Linked DNA regions of Homo sapiens: all the other regions are linked to region 4. Evidence: promoter capture Hi-C in human tissues and cell types (Jung and others, 2019). All regions are on one chromosome and are shown on one strand. The core of a region is centred on a gene start or on the middle of the fragment in contact, and the rest is flanking DNA. Distances in the headings are between cores, read along the strand shown.

Region 1 (2,700 bases), core at 165-2,664, 520 kb before region 4:
GCCGGGATTACAGGCGTGAGCCACAGCACCTGGTCCAAGTAAACTCTTTAAATTACATTTTGTGTCTCAGCTTCTTCATTTTAGGTCAACAACACCTTGAACTGGGCATCCTAGCCTCTAAAACTGTGAGCCAAGAAATTTCTTTTTATTATAAATTACCCAGTCTCCATGCACGCATATGTTCATTGCAACACTATTTGCAATAGCAAACACATGGAATCAACCTAAATGCCCATCAATGATAAACCGGATAAAGAAAATGGGGTACATATACACTATGGAATACTATGCAGCCGTAAAAAAGAGAACGATCATGTTCTTTGCAAGAACATGGATGGAGCTGGAGGCCATTATCCTTAGCAAACTAACACAGGAACAGAAAACCAAATACCACATATTCTTACTTAAGAGTGGGAGCTAAATGATGAGGACACATGGACACACAGAGGGAAACACCACACAATGGGGCCTATTGGAGGATGGGGGATGTGGGGAAGGAGCAGATCAAGAAAAATAACTAAAGGGTGCTAAGCTTAATACCTGGGTGATGAAATAATCTGTACAACAAACCCCATGATGCAAGTTTACCTACGTAACAAACCTGCACATGTACCCCCGAACTTAAAATAGAAGTTAAAATAAATAAATACATAAATTACCCAGTCTCTGGCATTCTATTACAGCAGCACAAAACAGACTAAGGCACCAAGCCACACATGTATAACCTCCCCTTCCCTCCTCTTCCACATTTGCTATATCTACCATGATTCATTTTTAAATTTTTTCTTTTGTTTTTCTTTATAATTATTTCTTTCTTCTTGATGCCCTCCCTTGCTATATGGGTATTTCTTCAGAAGAGGTGAAGAAAGAAAAGGGAGCTAATTTAAAAAGAATAATAACTAGATAAATGGAGCCGGGTGTAGTGGTTCACGCCTGTAATCCCCACAATTTGGGAGGCCGAGGCAGGCAGATCACTTGAGGCCAGGAGTTCGAGACTAGCCTGGCCAATATGGCAAAACCCCGTCTGTACTAAAAATATAAAAAGTAGCCAAGTGTGGTGGTGCACACCTGTAATCCAAGCTACCCAGGTGGCTGAGGCATGTGAATCACTTGAACCCGGGAGGCAGAGGCTGCAGTGAGCCAAGATCGTGCCACTGCACTCCAACCTGCACAACAGAGCAAGGTGCTATCTCAAAAAAGGGAAAAAAATAAAAATAAAAATTAGAACTAGATAAATGAAACTTCTACTCATTCTAACTAGTGTCCTGGGGGTACCTACAAATATGCTCATGTTGTAACAGCTGTGTTTGAGAGAGTAATCTGTAAGGCTGGAGGCTGGGGTAGAAAACTCATTAGGGTCTGAATCACACCTCTGACACCCACTGCTATGTATCTTTGTGCTGCTAGATGGTCCTGCTGGCCATCCCCTCTGGCACTCTATTTTTTGTACAACGAAGCTCCCCTAAGATGATGGCCCTATATCCAGTTGGCTATGTTTCAAATCCAAATATTTTGAACTCATTCTCACCACACTATTCACTAATTCCATTCTCCACATGTTCGATTCCTGGTTCTGACACTTACTAGGTGTGTAACCTTGGGTAAGTCACTTAGTCACTGATTTTCAGTCTTATCATATGAAAATAGACTTGAGAATAGTATCTACCTCATAGGTTTGTTGTGATAATTACATAATGTATTACATGTTAGAGCAGTGATTTTTTTGTGTTTTTTTGTTTGTTTTGTTTTGAGACAGAGTCTCGCTTGTTGACCAGGCTAGAGTGCTGTGGCACGATCTCAGCTCACTGCCACCTTTACCTCCCAGGTTCAAGTGATTCTCATGCTTCAGCCTCCCTATTAGCTGGGATTACAGGCATGCACCACCACGCCTGGCTAATTTTTGTATTTTTAGTAGAGACAGGGTTTCACCATATTGGCCAGGCCTGTGTCGAATTCTTGACCTCAAGTGATCTACCCGCCTCAGCCTCCCAAAGTGCTGGGGTTACAGGCGTGAGCCACCACACCTGGCCTAGAGCAGTGTTAATTACATGTTTGCTATCCCTGTTGTTCCTTTTCTCCTTCCATCCTTACAATATAGGGCCCTGCCCAGAATTGAGGACTTCTAACAGAAGTCACATGAAAGGAAGCAGGTTACAGCTCTAATTTCAGTGACATACTGAACTACAAGAACCAAGTAAGTCAAAAGCATAAAAGCTAAGACCCATTAAAGCTTTTAGGAAAAAATGTTATTTTTAGTCCAAGAGAGACAAATAAAATTCTCCAACTCTATATTCTGAAACTTTAAATACACTGAATCAATTTTCTAAGAGATCTAATTGTTAGTTTCCTCATGACATCAAACAAAATGCAAAAGAGGAACATTTATAATAAATTCAAGCTTTTTAAAGATTAATTAATTGATGTTGGGAGGTAGTTTTGAGACAGGGTCTTACTCTCTTGTCCAGGCTAGAGCATAGCAGTATGATCCCAGCTCACTGCAGCCTTGACCTCCTGGGCTCAAGCAGTCCTCCCACCTGAGCCTCCCAAGTAGCTGAGAACACAGGTGCACGCCACCATGCTTAGCTAATTTTTTTTTTCTTTTTTGTAGCAATGCGGTTTTGCCATATTGCCCAGGTTGGTTTTGAACTCCTGAGCTCAAGCGATCTGCCTGCCTCGGCCTCCCAAAGTGCTGAGATTACA
Region 2 (2,743 bases), core at 165-2,664, 610 kb before region 4:
CTTTCACTGGCACATCTGAGATGCCCACGGAGTCTGCGGACCCCCCGTATTCTGGCAAGCCTGACTGGAATACTGGTAAAATGTACACCTCATTCATCCCTCGGCAATTAACCTCCCCATCAGCAACGTGTTGGTTTTATTCCCAACACACATAGGCAAAAAACTTCAATCAACTCTTCCTAATATTTAAGATAATTTCATTAATCACCACGTAAGTTCACCACTTTACTTGGCAACCACAACTCATTCAAACGCCTGCAGACCAACTTAGGCTTAGATGAGCAGATCTCTTAGGTGGTGCTTAAAATCGTGTTACTACCACCGTGATCATGAACTAAATGAAATGTCCTGACAATGTAGGAAGAGCCTCAAATCTCAGGCTGTTTTAAGTGCCACTAGGAAAAGAAATCTCCCATTGGACGCGCCCTCACTCCCCGCCCCCCCCCTGCCCCGCCACTCCCGCCGAGGCGTCCTAAAAGCATTATGTCATCCACTGCCCCCACATCTCTCCAGCTCCAAACCCCGCCTCCTCTCGAAGTGTCCCGCGCCCCCAGCCCTCTTCCCTCTCAGACTAGAAGAGGGAAGTGGCACTGAGCAAATCTCGGCTCCTCCAAGTTCTCTTCACAACGCAGTTAAAAGAACCCCCGCCCTGGTTTCTCGCAAATAAAAAGAAACAAGTTCTCGCCCCAACTCTTCGCATCCTGCGAAGGGCGAGAGGGCTGAGGCCGTGACTCCCCTCGGTGAATTCAGGACAGGCCCCAACAAGGCTCTGCCTCCCCTCGCGAGAGGACAAGGGAAGACCCAAGTGAGGGAGCGGGGCTGAAGTGGGGGAAGGCCTCGCCCCAGGAGGGGGCGGGTGTCCCTCATGGGCTCTGGGTTGCTGGGTCACTCTGTCTCTGCGGGGCCGGGGGTTCGTGTCGCCGGCCCGCAGGCTGCAGGGTTACCGCCATCCCCGCCGTAGCCTGGGACCCGCCGGGACAGGGAGCTGCAGCGGGCCCAAACTCACGGTCGGTGCAGCGGCTCCTCAGCCACAGCCGGGCCGGGTGGCGGCGGGGGCGGCGGCGGGGGCGGCTGCGGCTGAGGCAGCAGCGGCTGTGCCTGCGGCGGCGGCTGAGGAAGCTGAGGAGGCGGCGGCGGCGGCGGCGGCGGTGGCGGCTGTTGCTGCTGCTGCTGCTGCTGCTGCTGCTGCTGCTGCTGCTGCTGCTGCTGCTGCTGCTGGAAGGACTTGAGGGACTCGAAGGCCTTCATCAGCTTTTCCAGGGTCGCCATGGCGGTCTCCCGCCCGGCACGGCAGTCCCCGGAGGCCTCGGGCCGACTCGCGGCGCCGCTCAGCACCGGGGCAATGAATGGGGCTCTGGGCCGCAGGTAAAAGCAGAACCTGAGCGGCCGTCCATCTTGGACCCGTCCCGGCAGCCCCCACGGCGCCTTGCGTCCCAGACGCTGCGCCGGCGGAGGCGGGGCCGCGCCGGCGGAGGCGGGGCCACGCCGGCCAGCATGATTGACAGCCCTAGCCTGCGGACTCTGCCAATGGCTGGCCAGGGAACCAGCCCGCCCCTGCCCCCGCAGGTTCTGCCTCACACAGCAAGGCCGCTGACAGCGCAGCGCCCCACCCGGGCGAAGGCGCGGGGCTCAACGGAGAGGGGACGGGGCGTGGTGAGACTGTAATGGGGTGAGGCGAAGCTGTGTGTGAAGTGTCGCGGCGAGGCGGGACGAGGAAGGGACGGGGCGGGACTGCATGGTAAGGGAGGCGTGGCGATGCGGGGGGCGTGGCGATGCGGGGGGCGTGGTGAGGTAGGGGCGTGGCGAGGCCGGGGCGGGGCACAGCAGGGAGGCCGCCTGAGGGGCGGGGCGAGACGGGGGCGGGGCGGGGCGATGCTGGGGACGGGGACATTAGGCAGGCCGGCTGAGGGGCGGGGCGGCTGAGGGGCGGAGCGGGATAGGGGAGGGGACTGGCCGGTGAGGGGTGGGGAGGCTGGGGGCGGGGCAGGAAGGTGAGAGGTGGGGCGAGGGAGGGGTGGGGCGCGGAGGGGCAGGGCCATGGAGGGGCTCGCCCATGAAGGACGGGGCCATGGACGGGGCGGGGCCGTGGAGGGGGCGCCGAGCGCGGGCGCAGGCCCATGCGGAAAGGATCCCCCGCCGACGCCTGGAGCGGGGCGACAGCCGGCCGTGGACTCTGAGCCGAGGTGGCCTTGGGGTTTGCCCTCCCGCCACACTGGCCCGTGGCCAGAGCCATACTCACCCGGACAGCCCTGCGGGGAGCCAGCTGCGGGGCTCTCTGCACGGGGAGAGGGTGGGCGAGCTCCTGCGCAGAGCGCAGAGAATGCGCGTGGTCGGCACGACCTGAGGACCCCAAGTGTGACCCCCACCCCACCCCCAGTGAGCTGGAGAGGCCCCTGCAGGGCGGTGTCCACAGGCCTGGCGCCCCCCATCGGTCCCAGCGCAGCGCCCCGGAAGGGAGGAGAGGGTCTGGGGCAGGCCTGGGTGGTCAGCGCCTGCTGCCCACAGAGGCACTGTGATTAGTGCAGCGAGAAGCAGCTATGGCCACAAGATGCCGCCCACAGGAATGAGTCCCGACCTGGGGGCGTTTCTTTATGGGAGTGCACCCCTGCTCTGACCTTCCGGCAGGACCCCCAAGGGGCGTCATTCAGCAGCAGCTCAGCAGAGGTCTGTGGGGCACCCCCTCACGCCTGGGACACAGGCCGTGGCGGGCAGGGTCCTGGTCTCCAGAGCCTCCTGCCTTTTG
Region 3 (2,700 bases), core at 201-2,700, 580 kb before region 4:
AAAATTAGCTGGGCATGGTGGCATATGCCTATAATCCAAGCTACTCGGGAGGCTGAGGCAGGAGAATTGCTTGAACCCCGAGAGGCAGACGTTGTAGTGAGCCTAGATCACGCCATTGGACTCCAGCCTGGGCAACAAGAGTGAAACTCCATCTCAAAAAAAAAAAAAAAAAAGAAGTTAGCAAACCTAATATCTAACCTGCCTAATTTAGGCCAAATGTCTTTATTTTCACCAGTAACCTTTAAAACTTTTTATTTCCCAAAGATTACTGAAGTTACATGCACTAAAAGGCATTAGAGTTTTTATTTTTCTTTCAAAATATTTGATTTAAGCACTCATTTTTCTTAAAGCCAATTAATTAGAGCTCTTTTATTTATTTTTATTTTTATTTTTATTTTGAGACAGAGTCTCACTCTGTCATCCAGACTTGGGTGCAGTGGCACAATCTTGGCTCAGGGCAACCTCCACCTCCTGAGTTCAAGTGATTCTCCTGCCTCAGCCTCCTGAGTAGCTGGGATTACCAGCATGCGCCACCACACCTGGCTAATTTTTGTATTTTTAGTGGAGACGGGGTTTCGCCTGGTTGGCCAGGCTGGTCTCGAACTCCTGACCTCAGGCGATCCACCCACCTCAGCCTCCCAAAGTGTTGGGATTATAGGCGTGAGCCAATGTGCCTGGCAATTAGAGCTCTTTTATATAAACATTAAACACACAACACATATATAACTACACAGACAGACAGAAGAAGATCCAATAGTTGTAAGATTTTTCATTTACCACTTTCTAAGTTTCTAAATTGGATTACTGGCTTTAGGATGGAGTCCTTGGAAGAACAGGACCAGGAAAGCATGCAGTTTCTAGGGCCTAATATAATAAGCAGGCACAGCTGGAAGGCAAAACGGATCTCCAAAAATTAAGGGTCTCTTTTTTTTTTTTGAGACGGAGTCTTGCTCTGTCACCAGGCTGGAGTGCAGTGGCACCATCTCAGTTCACTGCAACCTCCGCCTCCTGGGTTAAAGCGATTCTTCTGCCTCAGCCTCCCAAATAGCTGGGACTATAGGCGCATGCCGCCATGCCCGGCTAATTTTTTTTTATTTTTATTTTAGTAGAGGTGGGGTTTCACCATGTTGCCCAGGCTGGTCTCGAACTCCTGAGCTCAGGCAATCCACCCACCTCGGCCTCTCAAAGTGCTAGGATTACAGGCGTGAGCCACCATGCCCAGCCTGAGGTCTCGTTTTTATACCAGATCCTGGATCCCCCCCAAAAAAGAGGGAGTCAGCCCCATAACTGCCATTAGACATCCCTAAAGTATATTTCCTGCCTAGTTATTACACACCAAGTCTCTATGTGAAGTAATTTCTGATACCCCCAAGTAAAAAACAGTAGATAATCCAATGCAAAACAGAACAGAGCCTTAGATTTTGAAAGGAATCTATCTACTTCCAATTTCTGGGGTTTCATGAGTAAAACAGAGTTTTTTCCCAAAACGGGGTCTCTGGCACCTCCTGTTTTCCCAAGGAGTCCCAGGCTGTTAGAGCCAGAATATCTACTTTTAATTAAGCTGACTTTTAACCATTGCACTCTTTAATAAAAGTTCTTTTAAATTGCTTATTACCCAACTTTCATCAGGCCAAACAGCCAATATTCCTGCCTTTAAACTATTGAAAGTAACCTCCCAGGTGCTCTGAGAAAGGCAATTCAAGACAGTTTGTGGAGGGGGAGAAAATCAAAAAATGGCAAAGGTTACCCAAATATCAATTAGAAAGTACTCATTCCCTAAGCCAGGAATCAAACCCAGATCACCACTGAACTATAGCACTGGGCAGTCTCCATTGCCCTTCCCAGAAAGAGTCTAGAGTAGTTAATTTTCAGCTGGCAAAGCCTCGTAACTACTCAAGATAGATTGTAGAGCTAACTATGACATGAACCCAAAATTCCTGTTCCACTTGGAAGGTGGAGACCAAGTAACCGCCACATGGTTACAAGGTCAAACTCCCAAAGACTTAAAACAAGATGGAGACCTCATCTAGTTTTTTTGTTTGTTTCAGGGATCTGCAGCAGTTACTGACCAGCTTGTTGGGCCATCTTGAGCGGCGAGCAAGCTTATGGGGTTTTAAGCCCATGTTCTATCCTAAGGCGCCCCTTTTTATCACAGAACAGCACGGGAAGACACATAAAGCCTACGAGATTCACTACAGCCTGAGATTAGCCTCACAAATCCTTTTTTCCATTAATCAAAACTTTACAGAGGAGATAAGCAGTGATTTTTTTTTTTTTAATTCATTCAACCAGTTTGAACACACAGAGAGAGAGAGGTCAGAAATCTGACTGGTAAGAAATTCTTACCCTTTTGCTGTGTGCCAGGCTTCTGGATTCCCTTTCCCTGAGTAGCCCTAGTGACCCAGCTCTCCACATCATATCCCTGAGGGCCAAGCCACATCATAAAGGAAAATGATCTTTTTTTGTTTCATTGAACCACAGGCAAAAGCCTCTCAACTTTTAAATTTGAGCAGCAAGTTGCCACCCAACTGGCTGCATGGGGGCACCAAATATCAAACTGGCAAAAGGCCAGGCGCGGTGGCTCACACCTATAATCCCAGCACTTTGGGGGGCCAAGGCAGGTGGATCACCTGAGGTCGGGAGTTCGAGACCAGCCTGACCAACGTGGAGAAACCCCGTCTCTACTAAAAATACAAAATT
Region 4 (2,700 bases), core at 195-2,694:
TTACAAAGGTAGTAATTCAAGAAAAGATCAATAAACGATGTGTTAAAGTAAGATTTTTGGAAGCTCAAATTCAGGCAATACAAAAGCCAGCAATATATCTTGCTACTCGAATGCCTCTATTTCACCTCAAACTCACAGATAAAACTGAACCCAATATGTCCTTGTCCATTAAAAAGCAAATCACCAAGAAAGTAACAAAAGATTCCCTTCAATGTCTCTTTTATTGACAGTGGTCCCAAAACTCCTGGTCAATGAATTCAAAACCCAAATCTTGCAGGTAGGACTTAACCTCATCTGCTGCCAAATAGCTGGCTATGTGACCTTGGGCAGACCACTTCACTTTTCTGGACCTCAGTCTCCCCAGTCAGTTGGACAGTCTAAGCCAGGCTCCAGAGCTGAGACCCTACGTCTGGCTCAAGAACTTGGTGCAGAAACAGAACGAAGATTATTAAGTTTGTGAACGTCTATGGGAACTGACAAGTGAAAGACAAAAGCTGAAATCCCTACCAAAACGGCTTGCCCAAGCTCTATCCTTTTCCCTCTTCCCTCGATGGATCAAAGGCGGAAAAGCGGTGTTTACTAGCAACTCTGTTTCGGGTCGTGAGAATCTTCATACACCTGTCTATAGGCGCGCCAGAGCGGTGAAGGGCCCGAGCGGTGCAGGGCTGGGCCGCAAGCCTCACAGTCGCACGTTCCACCAACCACCAGCCGGGGCCCGGAAGCGCGCCCGGAAATCGAGGCCCTACTAAGTTTTAGACTGCGACCTCGGCGCCCCCACGGTCAGGCCCGCACCCGTACTCAGATCCTCCCGACCTACAAAAGGCCCCGCCACGCGGCCCACGCACCCCGGCAAACTCGCAGGCCCCACGATGGCGGGGCGGCGGCGCGAACACACAAAGGAGGCGTCGTCAGCGGGGAACAAAAACCCTGCCCGGGTCTTCCCCCTAACAGCACATCCTGCCCGACTTTCCAAGTGACCTTGGGGGCGTTCCTGCCCCTCCCAGAGTCTCAGTTTCCCTTCCTAGGCTAGGAACTAAGCCCCATGGCCGCGGCCCCCCAGGGTGAGCCGAGACCCAGACGCAGACCTCCTAACTTCTGTTGCCCGCGCCAAGCCGGGCTCGGTGCGCCCGCGCGGACGGCAGTGCGAGCGACCAGAGCTGGCTCGAGGTCCCGGGCTGCAAAGCCTCGGCTGGGTCAAGCCGCGCAGCGCGGCTCCCCCAAGAGGCGCGGGCCGAGGCCTCTGTAGGCCGCGAAGCTGCCTAAACCTCGCATCTGCAAGGCCCTGACTTACCGCTGCTTTCCCGCAAAGCTCGGCCTAACCTGGAGCTAGTTAGGTCCGCAGGCGCCACCGCCGGCGCACTCCGGAGAAGAAGCTCCTTCTTCAGCCGCCCAGGAGAGCTCCTCGAGAAAGATGCCGCCGCCTCAACAGCAACCCACTTCCGCTTCGGAGGCCTCGGCTCCGCCCCCCATCATGTCCCCATTGGCCGCCCGCCTACTCTACTTCCGCGGTCGGCCGGGTAAGGACAAATTTTTTAATCCTATTGGATAAGAAAACCATCTGTTACCACTTTAAAACGCGCCTCTTTCCGCCCCCGCCCACAATCGAGCGCACTAACTCGCACCTTCCGGCAAGAGACGGCGCGGGCGCGCCCCGCCCGCAAGGTTTTTCGGGAGTCACGGTCTGAGGGCGACCCGGGCGACCCGGTCGCCCGTGCCCGGCTGCCACTGACCGCTCCAACGCCGCCAGGGACGACCCGCCAGCTGCCTCCGGAGCCGAGCAGGCCCCGAACCTTCCCATTCCTAGATTTCCAGCCGCACAACAGCCGCGGTGCCCCTGGCTCGACGCAGCTGGCCGGAGGCGCGGAGCTGGTCGTTCGTCCCGCCCGCCGTTCCGCGCCCCTCTCCCGGCTCTTGTTTCCTCGCCTCTTAACGAGGCCTTTGTGAGGAAGGTTGCTGGGCCTTGGGACTCTGACGATCGGCTGGAAACCAGGCCTGGCCCTGTTTCAGCATCCCCGCGTGCCAAGCCCTGGGCCGGCGTGCGGGTCCCTGCCCCTGCGAGGAAGCTGGGACTTTTGCAGGCCTGGGTGGAGACGTGTACATAACAGAGGAAGAGTGTGGAGGATTGGAGGACTCAGGGCAGCACGGCAGAGGTGCATGCAGGTCCCCGGTCGGACTGGAGAATGGGCGGTGGGTTTCTTGAGCTCCAGTCCCTGAGCTCGACTTTGACGTGGGTTTAGCAACCAGGAAAAAAGCCCACCTTGTCCCTGCTGCCTGAGAATACCCAGACCTTAGTCCATGGCCAGCATCTCTGGTCCCTCGGCACCCTCAGGCAACGTGAAGGTCACCCCAAATGCCTTGGGTTACATTGTTTCCTTACAGTGAGTTTGTTTGTTTTAGTGGCGCGATCTCGGCTCACTGCAAGCTCTAACCTCCTGGGTTCACGTGATTCTCCTGCCTCAGCCTCCCGAATAGCTGGGATTACAGGCGCCTGCCACCACGCCCGGCTAATTTTCTTTGTATTTTTAGTAGAGATGGAGTTCCATCATGTTGGCCAGGCTGGTCTCGAGCTCCTGACCTCAGGTGATCCACCCTCCTTGGCCTCCAAAAGTGCTGGGATTACTGGTGTGAGCCACCTCGCCCGGCCACCTTACAGTGAGTTTCTAACCTCGAAAATGGAGTCAAATAACGGAATGACAAGGC

Evidence for each region. Contacts are between HindIII fragments. The study calls those that stand out against the background at their distance.
Region 1: a contact is called between a fragment that was not itself captured here and the fragment with the promoter of RNF4 in region 4, in 2 of the 25 tissues and cell types used here (dorsolateral prefrontal cortex and mesenchymal stem cells).
Region 2: the fragment with the promoter of HTT here is called in contact with the fragment with the promoter of RNF4 in region 4 in 1 of the 25 tissues and cell types used here (spleen).
Region 3: a fragment that was not itself captured here is called in contact with the fragment with the promoter of RNF4 in region 4 in 1 of the 25 tissues and cell types used here (lymphoblastoid cells).

The regions. Positions count from the first base shown.
Region 1 is chr4:2,992,722-2,995,421 of GRCh38, reverse strand. The region is part of intron 4 of GRK4 (G protein-coupled receptor kinase 4); the gene reads right to left. Among named protein-coding and RNA genes, the nearest start is that of GRK4, 31 kb to the right of the region's middle. The HindIII fragment of the contact is 3,591 bases long and covers 1-2,700 here.
Region 2 is chr4:3,073,352-3,076,094 of GRCh38, reverse strand. HTT (huntingtin) reads right to left here and starts at 1,414. Exons shown (of 67, transcript NM_001388492.1): 1 at 1,007-1,414. The coding sequence starts at 1,269. It also overlaps HTT-AS. RefSeq lists enhancers at 519-568, 579-808 and silencers at 969-1,038, 1,149-1,588, 1,739-2,358. The HindIII fragment of the contact is 13,196 bases long and covers 1-2,743 here.
Region 3 is chr4:3,051,231-3,053,930 of GRCh38, reverse strand. It overlaps HTT-AS. Among named protein-coding and RNA genes, the nearest start is that of HTT, 22 kb to the left of the region's middle. The HindIII fragment of the contact is 3,017 bases long and covers 1-2,700 here.
Region 4 is chr4:2,467,850-2,470,549 of GRCh38, reverse strand. It overlaps RNF4 (ring finger protein 4), which reads right to left and starts at 1,444. Exons shown (of 8, transcript NM_002938.5): 1 at 1,292-1,444. LOC107986250 (a long non-coding RNA gene) reads left to right here and starts at 1,599. Exons shown (of 2, transcript XR_001741551.3): 1 at 1,599-2,150. RefSeq lists enhancers at 802-921, 966-1,538, 1,222-1,581 and a silencer at 1,732-1,901. The HindIII fragment of the contact is 20,287 bases long and covers 1-2,700 here.